Regions from separate parts of the Homo sapiens genome. Here regions 1, 2, 3, 5 and 6 are each linked to region 4. The links are contacts of gene promoters, found by promoter capture Hi-C in human tissues and cell types (Jung and others, 2019). All regions are on one chromosome and are shown on one strand. The core of a region is centred on a gene start or on the middle of the fragment in contact, and the rest is flanking DNA. Distances in the headings are between cores, read along the strand shown. Region 1 has its middle 35 kb from the start of FA2H. Region 2 overlaps WDR59 (WD repeat domain 59). Region 3 overlaps RFWD3 (ring finger and WD repeat domain 3). Region 4 holds the start of ZFP1 (ZFP1 zinc finger protein). Region 5 overlaps CFDP1 (craniofacial development protein 1). Region 6 overlaps CHST6 (carbohydrate sulfotransferase 6).

Evidence for each region. Contacts are between HindIII fragments. The study calls those that stand out against the background at their distance.
Region 1: a fragment that was not itself captured here is called in contact with the fragment with the promoter of ZFP1 in region 4 in 1 of the 25 tissues and cell types used here (IMR-90 fibroblasts).
Region 2: a fragment that was not itself captured here is called in contact with the fragment with the promoter of ZFP1 in region 4 in 1 of the 25 tissues and cell types used here (thymus).
Region 3: a contact is called between a fragment that was not itself captured here and the fragment with the promoter of ZFP1 in region 4, in 1 of the 25 tissues and cell types used here (mesendoderm cells).
Region 5: a fragment that was not itself captured here is called in contact with the fragment with the promoter of ZFP1 in region 4 in 1 of the 25 tissues and cell types used here (IMR-90 fibroblasts).
Region 6: a fragment that was not itself captured here is called in contact with the fragment with the promoter of ZFP1 in region 4 in 3 of the 25 tissues and cell types used here (dorsolateral prefrontal cortex, small bowel and spleen).

What each region holds. Positions count from the first base shown.
Region 1 is chr16:74,807,694-74,811,854 of GRCh38, reverse strand. No RefSeq gene overlaps it. Among named protein-coding and RNA genes, the nearest start is that of FA2H, 35 kb to the right of the region's middle. The HindIII fragment of the contact is 7,167 bases long and covers 1-4,161 here.
Region 2 is chr16:74,872,188-74,876,597 of GRCh38, reverse strand. It overlaps WDR59 (WD repeat domain 59), which reads left to right. Exons shown (of 26, transcript NM_030581.4): 26 at 2,154-4,410. The coding sequence ends at 2,389. Among named protein-coding and RNA genes, the nearest start is that of FA2H, 100 kb to the right of the region's middle. RefSeq lists enhancers at 194-919, 1,648-2,373. The HindIII fragment of the contact is 8,452 bases long and covers 1-4,410 here.
Region 3 is chr16:74,659,467-74,664,179 of GRCh38, reverse strand. It overlaps RFWD3 (ring finger and WD repeat domain 3), which reads left to right. Exons shown (of 13, transcript NM_018124.4): 2 at 2,729-3,248. The coding sequence starts at 2,731. Among named protein-coding and RNA genes, the nearest start is that of RFWD3, 5.1 kb to the left of the region's middle. The HindIII fragment of the contact is 6,343 bases long and covers 1-4,713 here.
Region 4 is chr16:75,146,020-75,150,501 of GRCh38, reverse strand. It overlaps ZFP1 (ZFP1 zinc finger protein), which reads right to left and starts at 1,978. Exons shown (of 4, transcript NM_153688.4): 1 at 1,859-1,978. RefSeq lists a silencer at 1,388-1,757 and an enhancer at 2,118-2,167. The HindIII fragment of the contact is 27,656 bases long and covers 1-4,482 here.
Region 5 is chr16:75,403,522-75,408,068 of GRCh38, reverse strand. The region is part of intron 4 of CFDP1 (craniofacial development protein 1); the gene reads left to right. Among named protein-coding and RNA genes, the nearest start is that of CFDP1, 28 kb to the left of the region's middle. The HindIII fragment of the contact is 7,226 bases long and covers 1-4,547 here.
Region 6 is chr16:75,468,338-75,472,729 of GRCh38, reverse strand. It overlaps CHST6 (carbohydrate sulfotransferase 6), which reads left to right. Exons shown (of 3, transcript NM_021615.5): 3 at 1-678. Among named protein-coding and RNA genes, the nearest start is that of TMEM170A, 5.8 kb to the right of the region's middle. RefSeq lists an enhancer at 439-1,081. The HindIII fragment of the contact is 5,677 bases long and covers 1-4,346 here.

The DNA of each region.
Region 1 (4,161 bases), core at 1,189-3,688, 340 kb after region 4:
ATAATGCAGAGCACCTAAATGAAATACTAGTATGGCTTCTAACAGCATAATGCTGTGTCCCTAGGATGTTACTAGAGATAAAGAAGGACATTTTGTAATATGAGATGGGTCAATCCACAGTCTACACACATGTCAAAACATATTGTACACTATGAATCCCAAATATCTGAGATAGGTCTCAGTTAATTTGGGAAGTTTATTTTGCCAAGGTTGAGGACATGTTCCCATGACACAGCCTCAAGAGATCCTGACATGTGCCCAAGGTGATCAGGGCACAGCTTGGTTTTATACATTTTAGGGAGACATGAGACATCAATCAGTATATGTAAGATAAACATTAGTTCTTCCCAAAAAGGCAGGACAACTCAAAGCAGGGAGGGGGCTTCCAGGTCACAGGTAGGTGAGAGACAAATGGTTGCATTCTTTTGAGTTTCTGATTAGCCTCTCCAAAGGAGGCATTCAGGTATGCATTTATCTCAGTGAGCAGAGGGGTGACTTTGAATAGAGCGGGAGGCAGGTTTGCCCTAAGTAGTTCCCAGCTTGACTTTTCCCTTTAGCTTAGTGATTTTGGGGTCATAAGATTTATTTTCCTTTCACATTTCCCCCCTTTTGTTTCTAAAATCTTTTGGAGAAAGCATTATCGGAAGAAAATGAGTCCCTGGTCTCAGGTTTCATCTGCTGTCTCACAGCTAAGACAGTTTATTCCTAGACAGATAAGTTCCAAGTTATTAGGAAAGCTCATTTTTAGCAGGTTCTGAAGTCTTATGTCCTATGAAGAGAAAATAGGAGAAAGAAGGGAGAAAAACAACAACAAACAAAAGAACAATCCTGCAAAACTGATATAGACCACCTTACTCTGTAGTCCATACATCAGTAGGCAGGTATAAAAGTGGCTTATGTATGTAAAAGGTTGCTGTTATTTTCTTTTGAAGTTTAAGTTGTCTAGTTTCAGTTTGCAGGGCTTTAAGAAAGCATAGCTTAGTTTTCAGTGATTTCAAATTAGGAAAAATGTAGGGAAAAGGAAAAGAAAGAAAAAAATGAAAACATTATTTTGGAGACTTGTAGCCAGGAAAAGTTAGAATTCAGTCCAGTCTGTAGAAAATAATAAAAACAGAAAAACATTAGGCAAGACTAGAATCTAACAACAGGTGTACTTTAGTTTTTGAAACAATTTTTCTCTCTCCAGTTTCCCATTTTTACTAAAAATCATGACAAATCATGGTAGGACCAATTTGCTTTATTATACTTGGCCAAATTATTTGTATAAAGTGCAGCTAGAATAATTATTCTTCACATAGGCTTTTTAAATTGGCTTTGATGGAACTTTGTTCCATAGAAGGAATCTCAGATATGACTTTTTTAAAGCCAAGCCCAGCCATGGATTTGTACCATCAAATACCTATGAGTTGGGTGAATTCCTCTCCCCTTGAGGTCTCAAGATAACTTGGGGTTCCCAGGCCAGTCAGAAAGTGACATTCATTTCTTATCACAGGTCAAGAACCGTGTACAGGGACTGTGTAGATAAGGTATGAGGCCAGTTTTCCCAAGGGGCTTTTATTGGCTCTAAAAGACAACTTTGATTCCTTAAAGGAAAGTAAACCATTCCAGTCAAAACTTGGTAAAATAACCAGTTGCTCCAGTCATGTCCTGTTACAAATGAAAACAGATTCTTATTGCACTTATGCAAATAACTATATAGCCGTAAGTTAAGAATACTTAAAATAGTTTCCAAATTCTGGAGAAATCAGGTGGAGAGAAACAAATATACTCCAAATTTTGTTGGTAGGAGTATACTTAGTTGTTAAAAGCTGTCAATAGCACAAAAGAAAAGTTTCCTTGACTCTGAAAATTGAAAGATCAGTAACATTTTAAGCAAAAAGTCAAAAAGATTACTTCAGTCATCTATTATTTCAGTCTTTGTAGTTAATTCCTGTTCTGCTTGAAATTCATGAACATTTCAGCTCTCCATGAGTCCTGAAAGTTTTTCCTCTATTCTGATGTCACCATCTCCAAAATTATCAGAAACCTCCATTCAGGAGCCCCTATTAGAGTTTTATAGTAGATTATAAAACCACCTTCTAAAGAGAACCAAAACAAGACAACAATTGTCCATGGATGACAAAATGTTTTAGGGCAGCTATAGTCAAAGACACAATTGACAAGGAAATCTGTTACCTCTGTGGCACACAAAAATTTAACATAACAATTATTATTATTACTACTAACTATGTACACTAAGTCATATCAGAATTATAGGAGTTCCCATAATTTTGGAACACATACCAATAACATATTTATACAAATATAGCCCAAAGAAAACCAAACCATTTCATGTTTGACAATGCTTCCTGTATAATTTTTATACCAAATAGGCCAAATATGTCATTTTTGGGCTTTAGGGAACCTAATATCTAAAAAGATTAATTAGGTCATAAAAAGACGTGTAATTTTATTTTGAAAAGTTTGTCAAATATCAAAGGTTTAAAACACTTGATATCACAAAATAGGATCACAGTTCATTGTAAAATAAGTGATTCATTTAACCAAAGTGATAACTCAAGGGTTTTCTAAAAAGGTGACAACCTTCATTCTTTGAGAGAGGAGACTTAATTTTCCAAACAATAAGCCCTAATAAAAATAGCATGAAGCCAATTAAATTTGTTTTTCAAAATTTTTAAACAATCTCTAAAATGTTAATTTTGACCATAACATATAACTTCCATAAGTCTTTTTATAGCCTTTATAACCTTTAATAAGGAGTTGGTTAATACTTCAAGAAAACCTTGTTAATCTGACACAGGGCCTCATGTGCTGGTCTTGCATCAGTATGCCTTTGACATTAATGGTTAATTTATAGAGAAACTGAACTTCCTTTATCTCTCAAAATTGGCCCTTACAATCTCATGCACCTGCCTCTTCTGTGATACTCCCTGGACCTTGAGGAGTTGAATAGCTTTAATTTCTGGCCCTGTGTCTTAGGAATGCAGTTTATTTTGATTGGCATCTTCTATCAGACCTGAATACGAAGCTTTAATTGCTGTCAGTGTTTAAGAGTTAGCAGGATTTGGTGTCCTTTTTAGACCCAGGAGTCAAAGCCCAGCAACTCAATGTTACAAGGACTTTAAAAGCACATACAGAAAAATACATGGAGGTAATAACCTTAATTGAAAAAAATTTTTGATCTGTTTTTTCTAAGCAAACCAAAACTTAATAATAATGGGATAAGAATTATTTGATAAGACATGAAATCTGTTAGGCCAGTTATCAAAAGGCCAAAGAAAAGACCTTCTGCAGTGCACAGAATATTATGTTGGAAGAAAACATTTCCTTTAGGCCTTGTTATGTAAATAAAGAAAGCCTTAAGTAGTCAAAATTAAAAAATCTTTCCCTTTTTTCCCCTTTTGCTGGCCACTTTTCTCCCCCCACCACACCACCTTTTATTGTGGGTGGGGGAATTTAGCCACTTCAAAGGCCTTGTTCCCCATAATTTGGAACTTTCCTTCAGATATGATCAAGTTGGATAGAGTTGGTCAAACCTGATAGGAAAAAGACTGAAACAACAACAAAAGAAACAAAAAAACAAACAAACAACAGAAAAAGTTAAGCGAAACAAACGATTGCACAACTTACATGATTGCTGAGCGCTCTAATGGTAAGGAGAAATTAAGACCAGCTGGTTGTTAATTTTAACTTTAGCCAAGGCAAACCCCAATTCAGTTATTTACGTAGGGATGGGTCTCAGGCCAAAGCCTGCTCTCTACCATCCTAGAAGCAGGAAAAACTCAAACTCGTCTTCCCTGTTGGGAGCGAGTTCAAACTCCATAAAGGAATTACCTGCCGTCCATTGTCATGGAAACAGGAAAAACTTGCCTTCCTTGTGTTAAAAGCAAGTAAAACTCCAAAAAAAAAAAAAAAAAAAAAAGGAGTTGTACAGAAAAATAAAGTTTAGATCTTGACCAAATTTTGGGAGATCAGGGATTCTCTGGAGGAGGTGCTTCTAAGTGGCTGCAGGAGGGAGGCTGGCTGGGGCTGCACACTCCATGGAGCCCATGGGAACCCCGCTCCTTCTGAGTTGGGGCAGGAGCTCCTTGGGTGCCGCTGCAGCCACCCAAACTGCAGACCTAGGCCTTCCTGTTCTATGGATCAGGAAGGAGGCCCACC
Region 2 (4,410 bases), core at 1,421-3,920, 270 kb after region 4:
GGATCTTGAAAACTATATTTAATCCGATTCACTGTAGAGAAACACAATTATTAATGATACTGTGAGATGACATTTTAATAATTTTACCCAGATAGATATGGAGAATAATTAAGTTTACAGTTATCTCAAGTACCAAGGAACAAACCCTTTTAAACATTAGAATTAAATTTACCTGAACACACAATATTTACATTCTCATAATGTTGGCCAATAAAACCAGTAATGAAAATTTGAGAGTTTTCAACTAATTAGGCTTTTCATGAGAACATAACCAAAGTTTGTACATAATATAAAAAATTATGCTTAGAGGGAGAAGACATAGCTATTTTTAAACCAAAATTTTCAAACCAGTCTGATTTGTCTCAAGATTTGCCTTAATTGGAACTATCATAAAATATGCCCTTAGGTACCACATATCAGAGGAGTTTTTATTGGCCTTTTTTTTCTGACCACCAGTTGTCATTCAACAGAGCAGCCAGTTCTGCTAGAAGAAAGGACCCTCCCTCTGTTGTAAGAGGGAAGGAGAGGTGGGAGATTGGAAGATGCGTGGTGTAACGACGAAGGGAAGTGAGAGACGAGGCTGGCAGGTGCAGGAGCCGGGAGAAAAGGCATGAGGGAAGAGTTTGCAGAACGTGGTGGAGGCCCGAAGTCACCATCTCGGGGACAGAAGGGAAACACAGGCTCCGCGCAGGGCTAGGTGTTGTGTCCGTTGGTGATCGCGTGTATGAAGTGAGATGCATTTCTTGAACATGGGCCTTTCTCCAGGATTGCTCAGCCTCTTGTGGGCAGGCATGGAGTGGGCAGGTGATATGGGTCATCCAGGGTAGAGGTTTTGCCAGGTGGTGCAGGAGATGGGCAAAGGAATTGAAGGCATTTGCAAAATAAGTGATTATAAAGTGAGTCCATGTAATTCAGGTTGGCCAAAGGGCAAATTGCAGCTAGAAAGGGGCAGGTGGACTGAAGGGTTAGTGGTGATGGGTTAGGGATGAGGGCAAAGACCTGAATGGCCGGGTGGGCACTGGGTTAGTGGTGTAGGTTTGGGAGACCTCCAGGATCATCTAAGAACTGGGGTAGAGAGAAAATTGAGAGCCAAGAACAAGTCTTCAGTGAGTGGGGGTGTGTCTCCAGAATGTCCTCAGATGACACAGAGAAAAGGGGGAAAGGCTGGTGAAGCTGGATGACATTGGCCTCCAGCAGAAAGGTCAGTCTGGAGGCAGCGATGGGACACAGTCCCCACCCACTGCCCCTGCAGTCAGAGGACTTAAGCAAGAAATGGCCTTTCATCCAAAAGCCAGCAGAGGCAGGAGGGTCAGGTGATGAGGGGACTATTGCCAGCAGAGTAGATAGAGCAGGTTTTACTCAGGGTAGCCCAGTGGAACCAGTCCCCGCCCGGCGGTGGAGCGGCATCCCGGTGTCCTGACTTGGGCCAGTGGCGAGTGGGCAGTAGCAGGCGTTGGTAAAGCCAGTCTGCCCTCTGCTGAAGTGTTACTGCTGAGTCATTCAGTTCTTTCAGCTGATACCTGTTCAACACCTCCTGCGTGCCAGGCCCTGCCAGCCGTCGGGGTGGGAAGAGGCATCAGACGCAGCTGCCCCCTGCTGTAGGGCACTGGGTTTCCATGCGGAGCCCCTGAGAAAATACAGTACTCAGCAGCTGGGTGCAGTGGCTCAGAAGAAGGAGTTCTGGTGTAAAAAAAACAAAAAAAAACAGGCTGGGCACAGTGGCTCACGCCTATAATCCCAGCACTTTGGGAGGCCAAGGCAGGTGGATCACCTGAGGTCAGGAGTTCGAGACCAGCCTGGCCAACATGGCGAAACCCCGTCTCTACTAAAAATACAAACTTAGCTGGGCGTGGTGGCAGGTGCCTGTAATTCCAGCTACTCGGGAGGCTGAGGCAGGACACTTGAATCCGGGCTGTGAAGGTTGCAGTGAGCCAAGATTGCACCATTGCACTCGAGCCTGGGTGACAAGAGTGAAACTCTGTCTCAAAAAGAAAAAATAAAAATAAAAAAAACAGAAAATGAAAACCACTGGTCTAAGAGAATCTGCTAGAGTCTTGAGAGGAAGACTTCCTTCTTCCTGGCAAGCCCCAGTTTCCTTTTTCAGAACTAAACTCATGCTGCCTCTTGTTTTGCCCGTCCCTGCCCATTTCCAGAGTTCGGCGTGTACTGCAGCCACTGCCGGAGTGAGGTCCGTGGCACGCAGTGTGCCATCTGCAAAGGCTTCACGTTCCAGTGTGCCATCTGTCACGTGGCTGTGCGGGGATCGTCCAATTTCTGCCTGACCTGTGGGCACGGTGGCCACACCAGCCACATGATGGAGTGGTTTCGGACCCAGGAGGTGTGTCCCACCGGGTGTGGGTGCCACTGCCTGCTTGAAAGCACTTTCTGAACCTACAGAAGTTGGGTATTGTCTGAAATCCCAGAGGACCCATAAGTGCCGGTGACAAGCTGTCTGTCAGGGGAGAGGCTCCAGAACCTGGGTTCGTCCCCAGTGAGACCGGAGGATGATCCCCCAAGGACTGCGCAGCATCAGCTCTTGGTGGGCCTCTGCCTTCTCTTCTGTTTGGCCACCTGGTGTGGATGTCACTGTGTGAAGATAAGGACAGAAGTGCAGAGCTGCGCTTTGTGTGTTGTCTATGTCGGCTGAGCTACCAAGGTGGAAGTTTTCATGGAGAAAAGCACCTGGCTCCAGGGCCAGTGTTACAGTGTTACCCTGTAAGGTGTTAGCCTTAAACCACCGAGCAGCGTTCTCTTGATGCCAGTGCAGAGACCAGAGTCAGATGCCCGAGGACAGTGGGTAGGAATTTCATCAACAAATGGACCTATGGCATCATGGCTTTAGAAGCTGGTACATTTACTGAGCTGATGGACAGTGGCCTTCTAAAATATGACACTTAAATTGTAAATATGCACTGTACTTAAGGATTCTTAAGATGTATTTTTTTGTTATTTCTCCTCCAGCTGCTATCCCTTGGCTAATAAAATTCTAGTAATTTGAAAAAAAAAAAAAAGAGAGAAAGTTAAACAACATTATGGTGAATCATTTTTTACCCTAATTCTAATTGAAGGTAGCTATTTTGAATAGGACCAAAGTCAGTGCTCCGATTTTTAAAGGAAATGCTGATTTACTTTTGTCATCTGACAAGAGAAAATGGAATTTGACATTTAAGGTTCTTCCTAGCCCCAAGAGTCTTATTTCTTCTAGCAAAAGGAGGACAAGATTGCCGTGCAGCATGGATAGAAAAGTCTCCCTGGCCAGGCCCCATGGCTCATGCCTGTAATCCCACACTTTAGAAGGCAAAAGTGAGGGGATCACCTGAGCTCAGGAGTTCGAGACCAGCCTGGGCAACATAAGGAGATCCCATCTCTGCAAAAAATTTAAAAAATAGGCCGGGCACGGTGGCTCATGCCTGTAATCCCAGCACTTTGGGAGGCTGAGGTGGGAGGATTACCTGAGGTCAGGAGTTCGAGACTAGCCTGGCCAACATGGTGAAACCCCATCTCTACTAAAAATAGAAAAATTAGCCGGGCATGGTGGCGGGCGCCTGTAATCCCAGGTACTGGGGAGGCTGAGACAGGAGAATCGCTTGAACTTGGGAAGCAGAGGTTGCAGCGAGCTGAGATTATGCCATTGCACTCCAGCCTGGGTGACAAGAGTGAGACTCTGTCTCAAAAAAAGAAAAAAAAAATTAAAAAAATAGCCGGGTGTGGTGGCACATGCCTGTGGTCCCAGCTACTTGAGGGGCCGAGGTGGGAGGATCACTTGAGTCCAGGAGGTTGAGGCTGCAGTGAGCCTTGATTGCACCGCTGCACTCCAGCCTGGGCAACAGAGTGAGACCCTGTCAATAAACCAAAGTCTTCCTTGCCTCTGTTCAGATGGGCTGGGTTCCAGTGAGTGCCCTCACTCTTCCTTTAGGCTCCCTCGCAAACTGCCTGTGTTTGCCTGTGTTCTGAGTAGTTATAACATCTGTGTCCACCAATTCTTCAGAATGATTTTCTTTTTTAAAGTTAAATTTTTTTTTTTTTTTTTTAGAGAGAGAGACAGGGTCTCACTCTGTCACCCAGACTGGAGAGTGGTGATGCAATCATAGCTCACTGTAGCCTCTATCACCTGAGCTCAAGTGATCCTCCCACCTCAGCCTCCCGAGTAGCTGGGACTACAGGTGTGCACCACCATGCCTGGCTAATTTCAGAATGATTTTCAACTTCACATTTTGTATGTGCCAGTGAAAAGAAATCTTTTTTATTATTTCTACTGAAATATCTATTTCTGTTTCTTAGAATTTTACAGTTCCAAGTAGATTAGCTTAGGGACTAGGACATGTCTCATAATGGGAGAGCATTGCATATTCATGTGTTTCAAACTCCAGGTCAGGACCCATTAGTGGATTGTGACATTGATCTAGTGCG
Region 3 (4,713 bases), core at 1,515-4,014, 490 kb after region 4:
GAGGAGTTGAAGACCAGCCTAGGCAACGTGGGAAACCCCATCTATACAAAAAATGTTTAAAACTTGAAGTATCTCACATTGTTCAGTTTGCAGACTTTCTTTCCCACTTATTTTCAGTACTGTGCCACTCTCCATCCTGAGTGTAAGCCTGTGTGGTTCAAACCTCCAGTTTTCTCGTGCATAGGGGGAGAAGGGCTTTGTTCTGTGTTTTGTTTTAGCTGGCTGGTGTTTGAGTAGGAGTCAAGCTAACTGCTTTACTGGCTTTTAACCAGCCCTTCTCTTTTAGCGCCATCTTTCAATATTGCCTTTTGTGGTACCTGGTTTTTACAGTCCCTTTAGTGGGAATCAGCTTGCTTCTCAATAACACACCTCACCCCAACCACTGTGCCCTTTGCAGGCTTTGAGTTTTATCTTTTGGCTCTGCTAAGCAGTCATCAATCATCAGTTTCTCCTTTATGGCCTTAAAAAACTGGTTTGCATATCATACCCTGTTTGCATTTGTGTCGTCCTGGTTAATTTATCCTTTCTTAAAAAAATGTCTCAGGTTGTGGGGGTCATGTTCGTGGGTTTTAGGAATGACTGGAGTGGAGAGAGAAAGATACATATATGTACTTCGTCCACTATGTTTATTAGAATTCCTTCCATTTATTCAGCCTGCACCAGTCTGGCCTCTGACCCCACCACTTCAGGGAAACTGCTTTTTTAGGTCACCTGTCATCCTCATGTTGCCAAATCTAGCGGCCGTTCTTCCCCCCAGTAGCACTTGACACTCAATTGTTCCTTCCTTGAAACATTGTTTTTCCAAGACACCACATTCCCATGTTTCCTCCTACTTTATAATCTTCCTTAACTGGCTTCTTTTACTCTGTTGTACTTTTAACAGTAGTGTCTCTGACTTTAGTCTTCAGCCCTCTTCTGTCATTCTGTTCCTCAGGTGGTTTAATCTGCTTTGATGATTTTAAGAAACATGAGTATTGGCCGGGCGCGGTGGCTCATGCCTATAATCCGAGCACTTTGGGAGGCTGAGGCTGGCAGATCACCAGGTCAGGGGATCGAGACCATCCTGGCTAACACAGTGAAACCCCGGCTGTACTAAAAATACAAAAAATTAGCCAGGCGTGGTGGCAGGCACCTGTAATCCCAGCTACTCGGGAGGCTGAGGCAGGAGAATGGCGTGAACCCGGGAGGCGGAGCTTGCAGTGAGCCGAGATCGCGCCACTGCACTCCAGCCTGGGCAACAGAGCGAGACTCCATCTCAAAAAAAAAAAAAAAGAAGCATGACCATTCTGAAGATTCTTAAAGCTGTCTGTTTGTTTTCATCTCCACTGCTACCACTCTTGCCTAGGTCTCTCTGACCTCTGGTCTGGACTCCCACAATAGCCTCTACACTGGTCACCTAGCTTATGCTCTTGCACCCCTACAGTGCATTCCTAACATAGAAGAAACTCCTTACCAAGGCCCATAGGCCCTTTAATAATGGTGTCCTGTTCATCAGTGAAACCCATGCTCATCAGGGACCTATGCACTGATTTCCTTCTGAGACTCTTCTTGGCTCTTTGCATAGCCAGCTGCTTTTAATCCTTCATGCCTCAGCCCAATTTTCACTCTTTAAAAGAGTACTTCCCTCACAATTGTGTCTTAGTTGGTCCTCTTTGTCTCCTCAACCCCAAACATCATAATCTATAATTTTTTTCATGTATTTGTTTATTGACATCTTACTTGCTAGAATCTAAACTCTGATACATGGGGTCTTATCTGTTTTTGCCTCTAGGGTGTCTTGTCTGCATAACAGGTGCTTAATAACTATTAGTTGAACCCCCATTTCCTCATAAGTCAGATGAAAATAAAAGCACGTGCCTTACTTCACAAAGTAATTAAGGGGATAAGTTATACTGATGTACTTTAAAAACTAGGTGGTAGGGAGGCACAGTGGCTCAGTCCTGTTGTCCTGATGCATGAGGAGGTAAGGCCAGGCATTCAAGACCAGTTTGGGCAACATAGGAAGCCTTCATCTATATAACAAAAAAAAATTTTTTTTTTTAGTTTAAAAACTAGGTGGTAGTTTTCAAACTGATACAATGGAATTAAAGATAGGAAACATGAAAAGAACATAGGTGCTTAATAAATATTTGTTGAATACGCTAACATGATGGAATTAGAGATGGAAAACAAAAATAATGAAAGGGATAGGATAAAGTTTGCTCAGCCTTTTTGGAAACATTAGGTAAGTTTCCATTTTGAGTTAGTAACAGTTAATTTTGCAAGTGTAAAAAATGTCCTTTCTCTATTTATCCCTTGTAACTGTTGATGCTGTGAAAGATTAATATTGCCTGCTAAAATTAGATACTGCATTATATGCATTTGATTTTGGTGAATGTCCATATTCAGCTTGAGAGAACTGCAAAGTGTCTGAGAGATTACTTTTAGACCCAGTAGTTTAATCTCCTTGGTTTATAGATCTTTCTATTTTGGAAGATACTACTATGATCACAGGACTTCATGTTTTCTAAGGGCAAACCGGAAAACTGGTTATAAATGCTTGTTATAGAGAGGAAAGTCCATTACCAAACACTTCTGACTTAAGTAGTTAAAATCTTCTCTTGAAGCTTCTCAGTCTTGCTAAGAATGATATTAAACATAAAATCAGAAAGATTAAATATGATTCTGTCACCTACATAGCATGTTTTATCTATTTTATTAATACTTTTTACAAATACTGTTTCTCTAGTGATGGCTCATGAAGCAATGGAATATGATGTTCAGGTGCAGTTAAATCATGCCGAACAACAGCCAGCTCCTGCTGGCATGGCCAGCAGCCAAGGGGGACCAGCCCTCCTCCAGCCTGTTCCTGCTGATGTGGTCAGCAGCCAGGGGGTACCATCCATCCTCCAGCCAGCTCCTGCTGAGGTGATCAGCAGCCAAGCGACACCACCCCTGCTCCAGCCTGCTCCGCAACTGTCTGTTGACCTGACAGAAGTGGAGGTCTTGGGAGAAGACACTGTGGAGAACATCAATCCAAGAACTTCAGAACAACATAGGCAGGGATCTGATGGTAATCACACCATCCCAGCATCTTCGTTGCATTCAATGACCAACTTCATCAGCGGACTGCAGAGACTTCATGGCATGCTGGAATTCCTGAGACCTTCATCTTCAAACCACAGTGTAGGGCCAATGAGAACAAGAAGGAGGGTATCTGCTTCACGGAGGGCAAGAGCCGGAGGGTCTCAGAGGACAGACAGTGCCAGGTAAATAAATATATGGATAAGTCTGTGATCATTGCTGTACTAGAAATTATGAAACTGAGGCTCTGCCATTCAAGGACTGACAGTGTGACTTTTGGCAAGTCAGGTAACTTCTGACCCCCAGTTCCTCATAGGTGGAAATAAAAGTGCTTGCCTTACTTCACAAAGTAATGAAGGGATAAGTTAAACTGTTGTGCCTTGAAAACTAGGTGGTAGTTTGTTGGCAATCTCTGTAGAGATTGGCTGTTGTTCAGATTGTGTCTTGTACACCAAAAATTCTTTCTTCACTTGCAAGTCTCTACTCACCCAAATTCATTATTCACTGGCATTCCACCTGGGGGCACAATTAATTAATTTTCTTTCATAGTCTTGGTTTGAACTTGCCTCTTGAAGGGCTTAGCTGTCAAGTCTTGACAGGGTTATTATGAAGAATAACAATTGCCTATACCCTGTCCGTTTTTTGGTTTTTTGTTTTTGTTTTTGAGACAGCGTCTCACTCTGTCGTCCAGGCTGGATTCCCGTGGCACAATCTTTGCTCACTGCAACCTCCATCTCCCAGATTCAAGCGATTCTCCTGCCTCAGCTTCCCCAGTACCTGGCATTACAGGCGCGTGCCACCACACCTAACTAATTAAACCTGTCTGTTTTTGGTTTTGTTTTGTTTTGAGATGGAGTCTCACTCTGTCGCCCAGGCTGGAGCGCAGTGGTGCGATCTCCGCTCAGAGAGGGCTTTGTTCAGGGTCTCATAACTATAGAATAGAGGAGTTAGCACTGATATTGGAGCCTGGATCTGCCCTGTTTTCTACATAGGCAGATGGAGGAAGCTTCGACGAAATCCCTTTGTTTTCTCTTTCTTCTTGTTTTTATTATTGTTATTTTTGAGACAGGGTCTCACTGTGCTCCCCAGGCTGGAGTGCAGTGGTGCAATCACAGCTCACTGCAGCCTCGACCTCCCCAGGCTTAGGCGATCTTCCTACCTCAGCCTCTTGATGATTAACTGGGACTACAGGCATACGCAACCATGCCGATGTTTTCTAACACTGTGAAAATATTGAGATGATACTAAAAAGTGGTAGCTAGGTCATCTATTACCCATGTTTTACAAATGAGGAAGCTGATGGGATAATTTGTGATTTGGTTGTGATAAGGCTGGAATTGGAATTGTGCCTTCTGTATCTGGATTCAGCATTCTTTTTCATGGATCCTGCTGATTTTAATGTTGGGGCTTGCCATGACTGTGGCTCCAGTGTCTGTAGTGCCCATCAAGGATGACAGATGCCTAGTTCTGTGTTGACAAGAGTTGCAAATGCATATTACTCTGGGTTTTTTTTTTGTTTTTAAGACAAGAGTCTTGCTCTGTCACTCAGGCTGGAGTGCAGTGGCGCAGTATCAGCTCACCAGGACCTCTGGCTCCCGGGTTCAAGCGATTCTTGTGCCTCAGCCTCCTAAGTAGCTGGGATTGCAGGCG
Region 4 (4,482 bases), core at 729-3,228:
CACGCCTGTGATCCCAGCACTTTGCAAGGCCGAGGCAGGTGGATCACCAGGTCAGGAGATAGAGACCATCCTGGCTAACACGGTGAAACCCCGTCTCTACTAAAAATACAAAAAAAAATAAAAAAATTAGCCAGGTGTAGTGGCGGGCGCCTGTAGTCCCAGCTACTCTGGAGGCTGAGGCAGGAGAATGGTGTGAACCTGGTAGGCGGAGCTTGCAGTGAGCCGAGATCTCGCTACTGCACTCCAGACTGGGCAACAGAGCGAGACTCTGTCTCAAAAAAAAAAAAAAAAAGATCTGGAAAATCTCCAAAAACTTGGAAATTATGCAATACAATCTAAATAAATAAGGGTAAAAAATGAAGTCACAAGGGAAGTTAAAAAAATTTGAATTGAATGGTAATGAAAACACAATAAAAAGGCTGGGTGCAGTGGTTCATGCCTGTAATCCCAGCACTTTGGGAAGCCAAGGCGGGAGAATCACTTGAGGTCAAGAGTTCTAGAGCAGCCGGGCCAACATGGTGAAACCCCGTCTCTACTAAAAATACAAAAATCAGCCAGGTGTAGTGGCGGGTGCCTGTAATCCCAGCCAGGAGGACTGCTTGAACCCGGGAGGCAGAGGTTTCAGTGAGCTGAGTGCCACTGCACTCCAGCCTGGGTGACAGAGTGAGACTCAGTCTCAAAAACAACAACAACAGAAAAGAAAATACAAGATATAAAAATTTGAGTGATGTAGTTAAAGTAGTATTTAGAGGAACAGTTACATCAATAAATTGTGTCTGGCCGGACGCGGTGGCTCACGCCTGTAATCCCAGCTACTCGGGAGGCTGAGGCAGAGCACTACTTTAACCCAGGAGGCGGAGGTTGCAGTGAGCCGAGATCAAGCCACTGCACTCCAGCCTGGACGACAGAGCGAGACTCCGTCTCAAAAAAAAAAAAAAAAAAAAGAAAGTAAAGAAAAGAAACGGTACAATACAAAAATATAGTATTACAATCACATAGGACCACCATTTTACATGAGGTCCCTCGTTGACAGAAACACTGTTACGCAGAGCGTGACTGCACCAGAATCATGGGAAAACTTTCGTATTTCAAAGTAGTGAAGAATTTTGGGTGCCCCAAACGGAAAGAACAGTAAATTCCACCCGAGAGAAATTTAAAACGTCAAAACGTATACATGGCAAAATCTACCAGCGAGTAAAATCAAAAGATAAATGAAAAAATATCTGCTGCTCACATAAAGTACCACCGGGTTGTGAGACCTTAGGGAAATCACTTTCCCCTTCTGAACCTCCCGTGTTCCTGGGATAGCGACGGAGATGATAACGCTGGAAGTCACGGGGTGGATGCGAGGATCAGGGGAACACCTCACTGAAGACCCTCTGACAAAGGGATCACGGTTCTCCTTCACCACCGGCAACTGACCAGGCTCCAGTCCTTCCTCCACCCACGAGGCACCGGGCATCGGGGCGTGGCCAGGTGTGTCAGGCCACGCCCCCACCACGCCCCGGCGGGGCCTCGTCCCGCGCGCGCGCGCCCGCCGGGGCTCCAGAACTCGCTCCCGCGCGGCCCGAGCCCTTCGCCGCCCGTCTGAGGCGCATCTCCTGACAAAGAGAAGAAGGCGAAGCCTCATAGCCGCCCTTCCCTCCGCCGTCCCCGCCCCCGCACGTTCGGCCAGGCGTGCCCCGCCGGCCCCGTTCAGAGGCGAGCGCCGGGCAACCCCGGACGCCGCCCTGAGGGTCACTGCCGCCTACGAGTAGCCGAAGTTTGGGCTCCCACCCTGCGCGGGCACGAGCCCATCCCTCATCTCCTTCCCCTCGGCCCCAGGCCGCGCGGAGCTACCTGGAAGCCCCTCTCGTACCTGGAGGGGCGCAGCCTCCACTCGTGGCCCAGTGCCACAGCGGGTCACGGCGCAGGGCGGCGAAGACGCGCGGAGACGGGGGCTCTGTCACCCACTCGCCGCTGGTGGTGGGGGAAGGGCGGCCACCGGCGCGCTCGCAGCACTGCACATGCGCAGAAACAGGGGCGCGGGCCGTTCCCAGGGTCCTCGGAGGGGTGGACCATCCACGTTCGGGACTACATTTCCCACAAGCCTCCGGGGCCGCGGCTTTAGGGACTCTCAGGAAAGTCTTCGCCTTGTTAGGCGGTCTGATGAGCCGACCAAAATAATCTCCTTAGCCTGCACTGTTTTCTTTTTTCCCAGAGTGGGTCGTGAACTACAATTCACCACCTCCCCCTTAAATACAACAACTTGGCTTTTAAACATTACACAAATAATCTATAACTGTATTTAATTAGAATATATGTACAAAATAAAGTATCCATAATCTCACTTTCTAAAGATTAACTGCGTATAACATTAAGTTCGCACTTTGATTTTTTTGTTGTTGTTACAAAACTGGCCATAAAGGTATCATGTGCTGCAACTAGCTTTTTTCCCTTTTTTCCCAGGCCACTTTGTTGAGGTATATATATTTGTTGAGATCTATATATTTAAGATGTACAACTTGATATCTACATTTGTGAAATATTCACCATAATCAAGCTAATTAACATGTGCATCACCTCACATAGTTATTTGTCTGATGAGAACACTTAAGATCTATCTTCTTAGCAAATTTCAAGTACACAATATTGTCAACTATCGTCACATAGCTGTGCATCTCCCCAGAACTACTCATCTTGCATAACTGAGACTTTGTACCCCTTGACCACCATCTTCCCATTTCCCTTCACCCTCAGTTCCTTTCATCCTTTAGAACAGTTTTAGGTTCACAGCAAAATTTGAGCAGAAAATACATTGAATTCCCATATAACCCATGTCCCCCCAGCACACACAACCTCCCCAAAGTTGATATCCCACACCAGAACAGTGTATTTGTTACAATTGGTGAACCTACAGTTAAATATCAGCACCTGGCCAGGCTCAGTGGCTCACACCTGTAATCCTAGCACTTTGGGAGCCTGAGGCAAGCAGATTGCTTGAGCCGAGGAATTTGAAACCAGCCTGGCCAAAATGGTGAAACCTCATCTCTTAAAAAAAAAAAAAAAATACAAAAATTAGCCGGGCATGGTGGCACGCACCTGTAGTCCCAGCTACTCGGGAGGCTGAGGTGGGAGGATCACTTGAGCCTGGGAGGCTGAGGTTTCAGTGAGCCAAGATTGTGCCACTGCACTCCAGCTTGGGTGACCCTGTCTCAAAAAGTATAAATTAAAAAACAAAATCATTGGCACCCAAAGTCCATAGCTTACATTAGTGTTCACTTGATGTTGTACATTCTATGGGTCTTGACAAATGCCTGTAACCATTACAGTATCGTACAGAATAGTTTCACTGCCCCCCAAAAAATCATCTGTGCTCCATTTATTCATCCATCCCACAACCCCTGGAAATCTCTGATATTTTTACTGTCTCCATAGTTTTGCCTTTTGCAGGTTGTCATATAGGTGGAATCATACATATGTTGCTTTTTCAGATTGGCTTCTTTCATTTAGTAATATACATTTAAGTTTCCCTCATGTTTCCCTCAAGTTACCCTGGCTTTTTTTTTTTTTTTTTTTTTTTGACACAGGGTCTCACTCTGTCACCCAGGTTGGAGTGCAGTGGTGCGATCATGGCTCACTGCAGCCTCCACTTCCTGGGCTCAAGTGACCCTCCCAGTTCAGCCTCCCAAGTAGCTAAAACTACAGGCATACACAGCCATGCCTGGGTAATTTTTTGTATTTTTTGTAGAGATGGCATTTTGCCATGTTGCCCAGGCTCGTCTCAAACTCCTGGGATCAAGAAATCCTCCTGCCTTGGCCTCCCAAAGTGCGGGGATTATAGGGATGAGCCACTGTGCCCAGCCTCAGTTCGTTTTAGTGCTGCATAATATTCTACTGTCTGCATGTACCAGTGTTTTAAATCCATTCACCTACTGAAGATACATTGGTTGCTTCTAAGTTTTGGCAACTATGAATAAAGCTGCTCTAAACATCTGTGTTCAGGTTTTGTGAGGATATAAGTTTCCAGTTCATTTGGGTAAATCGTATGGTTGCGGCCGGGTGCAGTGGCTCACGCCTGTAATCCCAGCACTTTGGGAGGCCGAGGCGGGCGGATCACGAGGTCAGGAGATCGAGACCATCCTGGCTAACACAGCGAAACCCTGTCTCTAATAAAAATACAAAAATAAAAATTAGCCGGGCGTGGTGGCGGGCACCTGTAGCCTCGGCTACTTGGGAGGCTGAGCCAGGAGAATGGCGTGAACCTGGGAGGCGGAGCTTGCAGTGAGCCGAGATTGCACCAATGAACTCCAGCCTGGGCGACAGAGCGAGACCCCGTCTCCAAAAAAAAAAAAAAAAATTAGCATGGTTGCTGGATTGTGTGGTAACAGTATGTTAATGAGACAGGAGAGTTCCCTGGACCCCTTCGCGGGACTTGTCGTGGCTAGCTTACTCAGCCACTGTGCTAAAACCCCTTATGGGAGGGGGAGCACAGAGGCAAGT
Region 5 (4,547 bases), core at 1,880-4,379, 260 kb before region 4:
GCAGTGACACAATCTCAGCTCACTACAGCCTCAACCTCCAGGACTCAAGTCATTCTCCCACCTCAGCCTGCCGAGTGCGTGGGACTATAGGCATACACCACGCTTGGCTAATTTTTGTATTTTTTGTAGAGATGGGTTTCACCATTTTGCCTAGGCTGGTCTCGAACTTCTGGGCTGAGGTGATCCTCCTGCCTTCACCTCCCAAAGTGCTTGGATTGCAGGTGTGAGCCACCGCACCCTGCCTGTGATACTGTGTTTTCAAAGTTTGTATTAAATGCTTCATTATAGCCATTTTCAATGATTTATCCCGTCAAGTTATAATTACAGTTATTTTTTAGTGAAAGGAAAAAGGAATTCTGGAAGCCCAAATTTCCTATACATGAATTCTTTTTTTTCTTTTTTTTTTTTTTTTTTGAGACAGGGTCTTGCTCTGTCATTCACGCTAGCCTCAACCAACCTACGAGGCTCAGTTGATTTCCCCCGACCTCAGCCTCCTGAGTAACTGGAGCTACAGGCATATGCCACCTTGCCCATCTAACTTTTAAAATTTTTTTGTAGCAATGTCATCTCACTGTGTTGCCCAGGCTGCTCTTGAACCTCCTGGACTCAAGTGATCCTGCTGCCTTGGCCCACCAAAGTGCTGGGATTACAAGTATGAGCCACCACACCCAGCCATGTGTGAATATTTTTTTAATAGAAAATACAATTCAAAACATTCTATGAAATGTGTTAATTTGTAGAAACACTATTTTTCTAGGTTTCTAACTTGCATTTTTACCCTTATAATTTATTTGCTACTGAAAAACATGTTAAATTGCTTTCTTGCCTGGAAGTACTAGGATTATTTTTTGTTTTTGAGAGACAGGAGCTAACTCACTCTGTCACTCGGGTTGGAGTGTGGTTGTGCAATCATTGATTACTGTAACCTTGAACTCATGGGCTCAAGTGATCCTCCCACGTCAGCCTCCCACCACAGCCTCCCAAGTGAACATCACCACACCTAGCTAATTATTTTATTTCATTTATTTGTTTGCTTGTTTATTTGTTTATTTGAGATGGAGTCTCTGTCACCCAAGCTGGAGTACAGTGGCGTGATCTCAGCTCACTGCAACCTCCGCCTCCCAGGTTCAGGCGATTCTCCTGCCTCAGTCTCTCGAGTAGTTGGGATTACAGGCATCTGCCACCACGCCTGGCTAATTTTTGTATTTTTAGTAGAGATGGTCACCATGTTGACCAGGCTGATTTCAAACTCCTGACCTCAAGTGATGCTCCCGCCTCGGCCTCCCAAAGTGCTGGGATTACAGGCATGAGTTACCATGCCTGGCCTATTTGTTTATTTTTATTTATTTTATTTATTTTTATTTTTTGAGTTGGAGTCTCGCTCTATCAACCCAGCCTGGAGTGCAGTGGCGCAATCTCGGCTCATCACAACCTATGCCTCCGGGGTTCAGACCATTCTCCTGCCTCAGCCTCCCGAGTAGCTGGGATTACAGGTGCGTGCCACCACGCCCAGCTATTTTTTATATTTTGAGTAGAGATGGGGTTTCACCATGTTGGCTGGGCTGATATTGAACTTGTGACCTCATGACCCACCCACCTTGGCCTCCCAAAGTGCTGGGATTACAGGTATGAGCCACCGCACCCTGCCTATTTGTTTGTTTATTTTTAATATTTTATTTATTTAATTTTTTTGAGACAGGGTCTCACTCTGTTGCCCAGGCTGGAGTGTAGTGGCTCCCTCATGGCCCACTACAGCCATGATCTCCCAGGCTGAAGAAATCCTTTCACCTCAGCCTCCCTGATACCTGGGAATATAGGCATTGGTCACCCATGCCTAGCTAATTCGTTTTTATTTTTTTAGAGACGAGGTCTCCCTATGTTGCTTAGGCTGGTCTTGAACTCCTGGGCTCAAGTGATCCTCCTGCCTTAGCCTCCCAAAGTGTTGGGATTACAGGTATGAGCCACTGCACCTGGCCTATTTTATTTTTTTGTAGAGATGGGGTCTTGCTGTGTTGCCCAAGGTGGTCCTGACCTCTTGTCCTCAAGTGATCCTCCTGCTTTGGCCTCCCAAAGTGCTGGGATTACAGGTGTGAGCCACCATGTCTGACCATCTACATAAATTTTTTTTTTCTTTTTTCTTTTTTTTTTTGGAGACGGGGTTTTGCTCTGTCACCCAGGCTGGAGTGCAGTGGCGCAGTCTTGGCTCACTGCAGTCCCTGCCTCCTGGGCTCAGGCAGTCCTCTCACCTCAGCCTCCTTAGCAGCTAGGACTGCAGGTGCATACCACCACGCCTGGCTCATTTGTTTTTTTTTTTTTTTTGAGATGGAGTCTCACTCTGTCACCCAGGCTGGAGTGCAATGACACAATCTCAGCTCACTGCAACTTTACCTCCTTGGTTCAAGCAGTTCTCCTGCCTCAGCTTCCTGAGTAGCTGGACTACAGGCACGCACCACCATGCCTGGCTAAATTTTTTTTGTATTTTTAGTAGAGACGAGGTTTCACCTTGTTGGTCAGGCTGGTCTGGAACTCCTGACCTCATATGATCTGCCCGCCTCAGCCTCCCAAAGTGCTAGGATTACAGGCATGAGCCACCACACCAGGCCTCTTGTGTTTTTTGTATAGATGGGTTTATCCAGCCTGGTGTCAAACTCCTGGGCTCAAGCATCTGCCTGCTTGGCCTCCCAAAGTGTTGGGATTACAGACATGAGTCATCATGCCTGGCACCTGTATAAATTTTAAAAATTACAATTGAGTAACAATTAAAATGATTGTAAAAATAAGTTATAAAAATAAATGCTTACATTTTATTACATTTTTGGGCTTTAGTTGACAAGATAATTCTGAAGTATCACACACATTGTAATGTCCTACTGCGTGTGACTGATAATTCATATCACATGTGACTCACCTTGCAAATCTGGCCTAACTGAATTTATACTCTGTTTAATGGAAGGGCCCACTGCTCATGTCTTGAGTATTGTGACATTGTCAAATTGCTGAACAAGTTTCTAAATACTCACAATTTCTGTGCCCATCTCATCTTGGACCAATAACAGGTAGTTTTGCAGTCAAAACTTGAATAGCACTATATACAAATGATTCCATTCAGTTTTTCCCCAGTTATCCCAATAATGTACTTTATAGCTGTATTTCTTGTTCAATCTAAAATCCAGTCTAGAAGTCCAGCGCGCTATCCGTTGTGCTATGGAGCCACCTCTAAGATCCAATCTAAGATGAAAACCATAATTGGTCTTTTGTTGTTGCTGTTGATTTTGCATTTGGTCTTTTTAAACTCCTTGTACTTAGAACTGTTTTTCATGCCTTTTCTGTATTTCACAGCATTGGTTTTAAGCTTTTTTTTTTTTAAGAGTCCAGGCCATTTGTATTGCATAATGTCCCTCAATTTGGATTGCTGCATTGTTTATGATGAGCTTCACATTAATTATGTTAGACAAAAATACTACATTGATGGTGCTTCTCATCCATCAAGAGACTCAGCATTGATGGGGATAAGTTAGGCCACCAGTATCTTAAGACAGTACCTTTGCGGCCGGGCGCGGTGGCTCATGCCTGTATTCCCAGCACTTTGGGAGGCCGAGGCAGGCGGATCATGGGGTCAGGAGATCGAGACCATCCTGGCTAACACGGTGAAACCCGTTCTCTACTAAAAATACAAAAAATTAGCTGGGTGCAGTGGCGGGTGCCTGTAGGAGGCTGAGGCAGGACAATGGCGTGAACCCGGGAGGCGGAGCTTGCAGTGAGCCGAGATCGTGCCACTGCACTCCAGCCTGGGCAACAGAGCAAGACTCCGTCTCAAAAAAAAAAAAAGAAAAATGACAGTACCTTCCAGAATTCTTCATTGTAAGGCAACCTTTTCCTTGGTAATTAGTTGTTTTCGGGTTCCATAAATAATAATAATAATTACTATTATTATTTTGAGACACGGTCTTACTCTGTTGCCCAGGCTGGAGTGCAGTGGTGCGATCTCAGCTCACTGCAACCTCCGCCTCCTGGGTTCAAGCGATTCTCCTGCCTTAGCCTCCCGAGTAGCTGGGATTACAGGCACCTGCCACTGCACCCGGCCAAGTTTTTTATTTTTAGTAAAGACAGGGTTTCATCATGTTGGCCAGGCTGGTCTCCAACTCCTGACCTCAAATGATACGCCCACTTCGGCCTCCCAAAGTGCTGGGATTACAGGTGTGAGCCACCATGCCTGGCCCCATAAATAATTATTGATGATATGAATTAGTAATATATTTTACTGCCTGAAATTATTCTGGAAGCTGTTGAGTTGTACATCCAGTAGGGGACCAGCAGAACGCTGACAGTATAAACTTTTAATAGTTTGAAAGTCCTATAAAAATAATATAGAAAGTATGTTAATGTACCGTTAGGAATATAGGTTTAAAAGTTTTTTGAAGTCTTTTTTGGCTTGAATTATTTTCTATGTGTTATGCAGACTAAGAAAGATTTATTTATAACTTCACTAGTGGCCCTCACATAGAGTGTACAAAAAGCTGGTAAATAACTGTTGCTGTAAGAAGTCA
Region 6 (4,392 bases), core at 259-2,758, 320 kb before region 4:
CCACATCAACACTGTATCAACTCCTCATGGCCACCACAGACCCTGTGTCCCCTAGCTTTGTCTTTGATGTGCCTTTGTCACCCACTCCTACAGACTGCGCCCCACCACTGCCACAACTGCCCCATCACCTCTACAGGGTTAAATCAATGGTTTTAATTTTTGCCTACCTGATGGGTGAAAAATGTTACTTGATGTTTCAGTCTGCACTTCTTTAATTCCTGGGGCAGCTGAACATCTTTTCATGCTTATGACTCAACTGTATTCCTTTTTCATTGTTCAAGGCTGTGCCCATGTTGCTGTTGACTTACCACAGCCTCTTTTGAATATGCTTTGTTATTTTTGTTGTGCAAATGGTTTCTCCTAGCTTGTCATCTGTTTTTTGTTGTTGTTGTTTTGTTAACTTACTTTATGGCATTTTCCCCTCAGGCTTCTTAAAAAAAAAGAAGCTTCATTGAGCTATAATTGATATACAACATCTGCACATAAAGTGTAAAGTTTGATTAAACATTTGTATATACCTGTGAAATCAAATCACCACCTCATCACAATCAAATTTCAAAAAGTTTCACCTAGTTTATCATATTGTTGAATGTGAATCCTTTCCTTATGGCCAGTGGATTTTATGTCTTGTTGAAACGACTTTGTCCTGCTACAGTGATAAAAATGGTCTTCACGCTTGCTTCCAGTACTTTAGTAGTCTAGTGTTTTACGCTTGGATCTAAATTGCATGCAATATTCCTGATCGGTGCGAGTCATCAGTTCTCCCAGCGCCCTCTACTGAATGATCTCACTCATCACACACTGAAACCACCATGGGCTGGAATCTGTCCCTCACCCACAGGCCCACTCCACACCAGTGGATCAGGCGAGCAATTTCTTTAGGTCGAGTGACCCCTATGCTGAGGTCCAGTGGGTTATCCCGACTACCTTCACAAGTTAATGGATTTAGATTTAAGCACCACCTGCCCCCAGCAGATTCTCTTACAATTTAAATATCCTCTCACAGTGCAAATCCTTATTCTGTGAATGACTCTATTCAGACCATGTTCCTTAAGAACCAGAGCTAGGCTGGGTGCAGCTGTAATGCTAGCAATTTGGGAGGCCAAGGTGGGCAGATTGCGTGAGCTCAGGAGTTCGAGACCAGCCTGGGCAACTTGGCGAAACCCTGTCCCTACTAAAAAAAATACAAAAACGTAGCCAAGCGTGGTGGTATGTGCCTGAAATTCCAGCTACTTGGGAGGCTGAGGCATGAGAATTGCTTGAACCCAGGAGGTAGAGGTTGCAGTGAGCCAAGATCGCCCCACTGCACTCCAGCCTGGGTAATAGAGCGAGACTCTGTCTCAAACAAACAAAAAACGAAAGAACCAGAGCTAAAGTCTTGATGAAATGGAAAGGATTGGCCTACTATCCATTTTTCCAAGATGGCAATTCATTCCAGCCAATCGAGCATTTTCTCCTTTGGGAGTAAGACCAGAAAACCTGGCCTGTCCTGCAAGTCTTGTGTTATTCTGCTCCCAGTCCTCAAGAACTCCACTCATTCATTCAACACACATTATGGGTTGAGCACCAACCAGGCACTGGGCTATTATAGGAGCTGGAGATACAGCAGGACCAAAAACAGACAAAAAGCAAAAACCCCTGCCCTAGGCTGGGTGCAGTGGTTCACACCTCTAATCTCAGCCCTTAGTGAGGCCGAGGCAGGTGGATCACCTGAGGTCAGGAGTTCAAGACCAGCCTGACCCATATGGTGAAACCCAGTCTCTACTAAAAATATAAAAATTAGCTGGGCATCGTGGCATGCACCTGTAGTCCCAGCTACTCAGGAGGCTGAGGCAGGAGAATTGCTTGAACCCGGGAGGCGGAGGTTGAATTGAGCCGAGATGGCGCCAAAGGACTCCAACCTGGGCGACAGAGCGAGACTCCATCTCAAAAACAAACAAAACAAAACAAAACAAAACAAAAACCAGCCAGGCGCAGTGGCTCACGCCTGTAATCCCAGCACTTTGGGAGGCCGAGGCAGGCAGATCATGAGGTCAGGAGTTCGAGACCAGCCTGGCCAACATGGTGAAACCCCATCTCTACTAAAAATACAAAAATTAGCCAGGCGTGGTGGTGGTGGTGCACGCTTGTAATCCCAGCTAATCAGGAGGCTGAGGCAGGAGAATCGCTTAAACCTGGGAGGCGGAGGTTGCAGTGAGCTGAGATCGCGCCACTGCACTCCAGCCTGGGCGATAGAGTGTGACTCTCTCAAACAACAACAACAACAACCCTGCCCTTCAGGAACTTGCATTCTGATGGTGGGGAGATAGCTGATGAATAAGCTTAATAAATGGCTACATTATTTAGCATATTAGAAAGTGCCAAGGATTAAAGTAGAGAAGGATCGGGGGATGAGGAATATATGTGTGTAGAGGTGTGAGTTGTAATTTTTAATGGGGTGATCAGGGTAGGTCTCAGTGAGAAAGCGACATTTGAGGAAAGTCTTACAGGAGGTGAGGGAGTATGTTAAGGGCAATCATGGGTAGCCTGTCTGGGAGCAGGAAAGAGCTAACACAAAAGCCCTAAGGAGGGGAGGCATCTGGCTTGTTGAAAGAGCAGCAAGGGGCCAGGGGGTCTGGTGTGCTGGACCGCCTCCTTGGCTTCCTTAGACAGGGCCCAGGAAACCTCCATTTTCTGAGTCCTGCAAGGCTAAATGTCTTTTTTTAACCTGTCAATTCATAAATGAACTAAAGATCGAATTCTAAATTCAAAATAATGTTTCCTAATGTAATACATAATTGATTATGTAACCCTACAATAATTGATTTCTTCCACTTTTTTTTTTTTTTTTTTTTGAGACGGAGTCTCGCTCTGTTGCCCAGGCTGGAGTGCAGTGGCGCGATCTCTGCTCACTGCAAGCTCCACCTCCCGGGTTCACGCCATTCTCCTGCCTCAGCCTCTCCGGTAGCTGGGATTACAGGCGCCCACCACCACGCCCAGCTGATTTTTTTTTTTTTTTTTTTTTTTTGAGACAGAGTCTCATTTTGTTGCCCAGACTGGAGTGCAATGGCACGATCTCGGCTCCTGCAACCTCTGCCTCCCGGGTTCAAGTAATTCTCCTGTCTCAGCCTCCCAAGTAGCTGGGATTACAGGCGCATGCCACCAGGCCCGGCTAATTTTTGTATTTTTAGTAGAGATGGGGTTTCACCATGTTGGTCAGGCTGTTCTGGAACTCCTGACCTCGTGATCTGCCTGCCTCGGCCTCCCAAAGTGCTGGGATTACAGGTGTGACCTACCACACCTGGCCCTTTTTCTTTTTTTTTTTTTTTTTTTGAGACAGAGTCTTGCTCTGTCGCCCAGGTTGGAGTGCAATGGTGCGATCTCGGCTCACCGCAACCTCCACCTCCCAGGTTCAAGCAATTCTCCTGCCTCAGCCTCCTGAGTAGCTGGGATTACAGGCACATGCCACCATGCCCGGCTAATTTTTGTATTTTTAGTAAAGACGGGGTTTCACCATGTTGGTCAGGTTGGTCTCAAACTCCTGACCTCGTGATCCACCCGCCGCAGCCTCCCAAAGTGCTGGGATTACAGGCATGAGCCACCACGCCCAGCGGTTTCTTCCACTTCTAATAGACTCTGCTAGTCTGGGAAATGTACCAAAAAGACAGCATGGTTAAAAGGTCAGTATTTCCTGACCCTTTTTATACTTCCTATTTTTATTTTAGATAGGTTTCTTGGTTGATGCAAAACGCCAATTGTAGTGGTAGGGAACTGGCAGGAGGAAGCTTCCTAAACGGAGGTTTCAAGAGAGACTTCTGTTTCTTTTTTTTTTTTTTTTTTTTTTTGAGACGGAGTCTCGCTCTGTCGCCCAGGATTGAGTGCAGTGGCGCAATCTCAGCTCACTGCAAGCTCCACCTCCTGGGTTCACACCATTCTCCTGCCTCAGCCTCCCGAGTAGTTGAGACTACAGGCACCTGCCACCACGCCCGGCTAATTTTTTTGTATTTTCAGTAGAGACGGGGTTTCACCGTGTTAGCCAGGGATGGTCTCGATCTCCTGACCTCGTGATCCGCCCGTCTCTGCCTCCCAAAGTGCTGGGATTACAGGTGTGAGCCACCACGCCCGGCCTTTTTTCTTTTTGAGATGGAGTCTGGCTTTGTTGCCCACGCTGGAGTGCAGTGGCTCCCGGGTTCAAGCAATGCTCTTACCTCAGCCTCCTGAGTAACTGGGACTACAGTCACACACCACCATTCCCAGTTAATTTTTTCTATTTTAGTAGAGATGGGGTTTCACCATGTTGCTCAGGTTGGTCTGGAACTCCTGAGCTCAGACAATTTGCCTGCTTCAGCCTCCCAAAGTGCCAGAATTACAGGTGTGAGCCACCGCGCCCGGCTCAGGAGAAAATTCTAATAA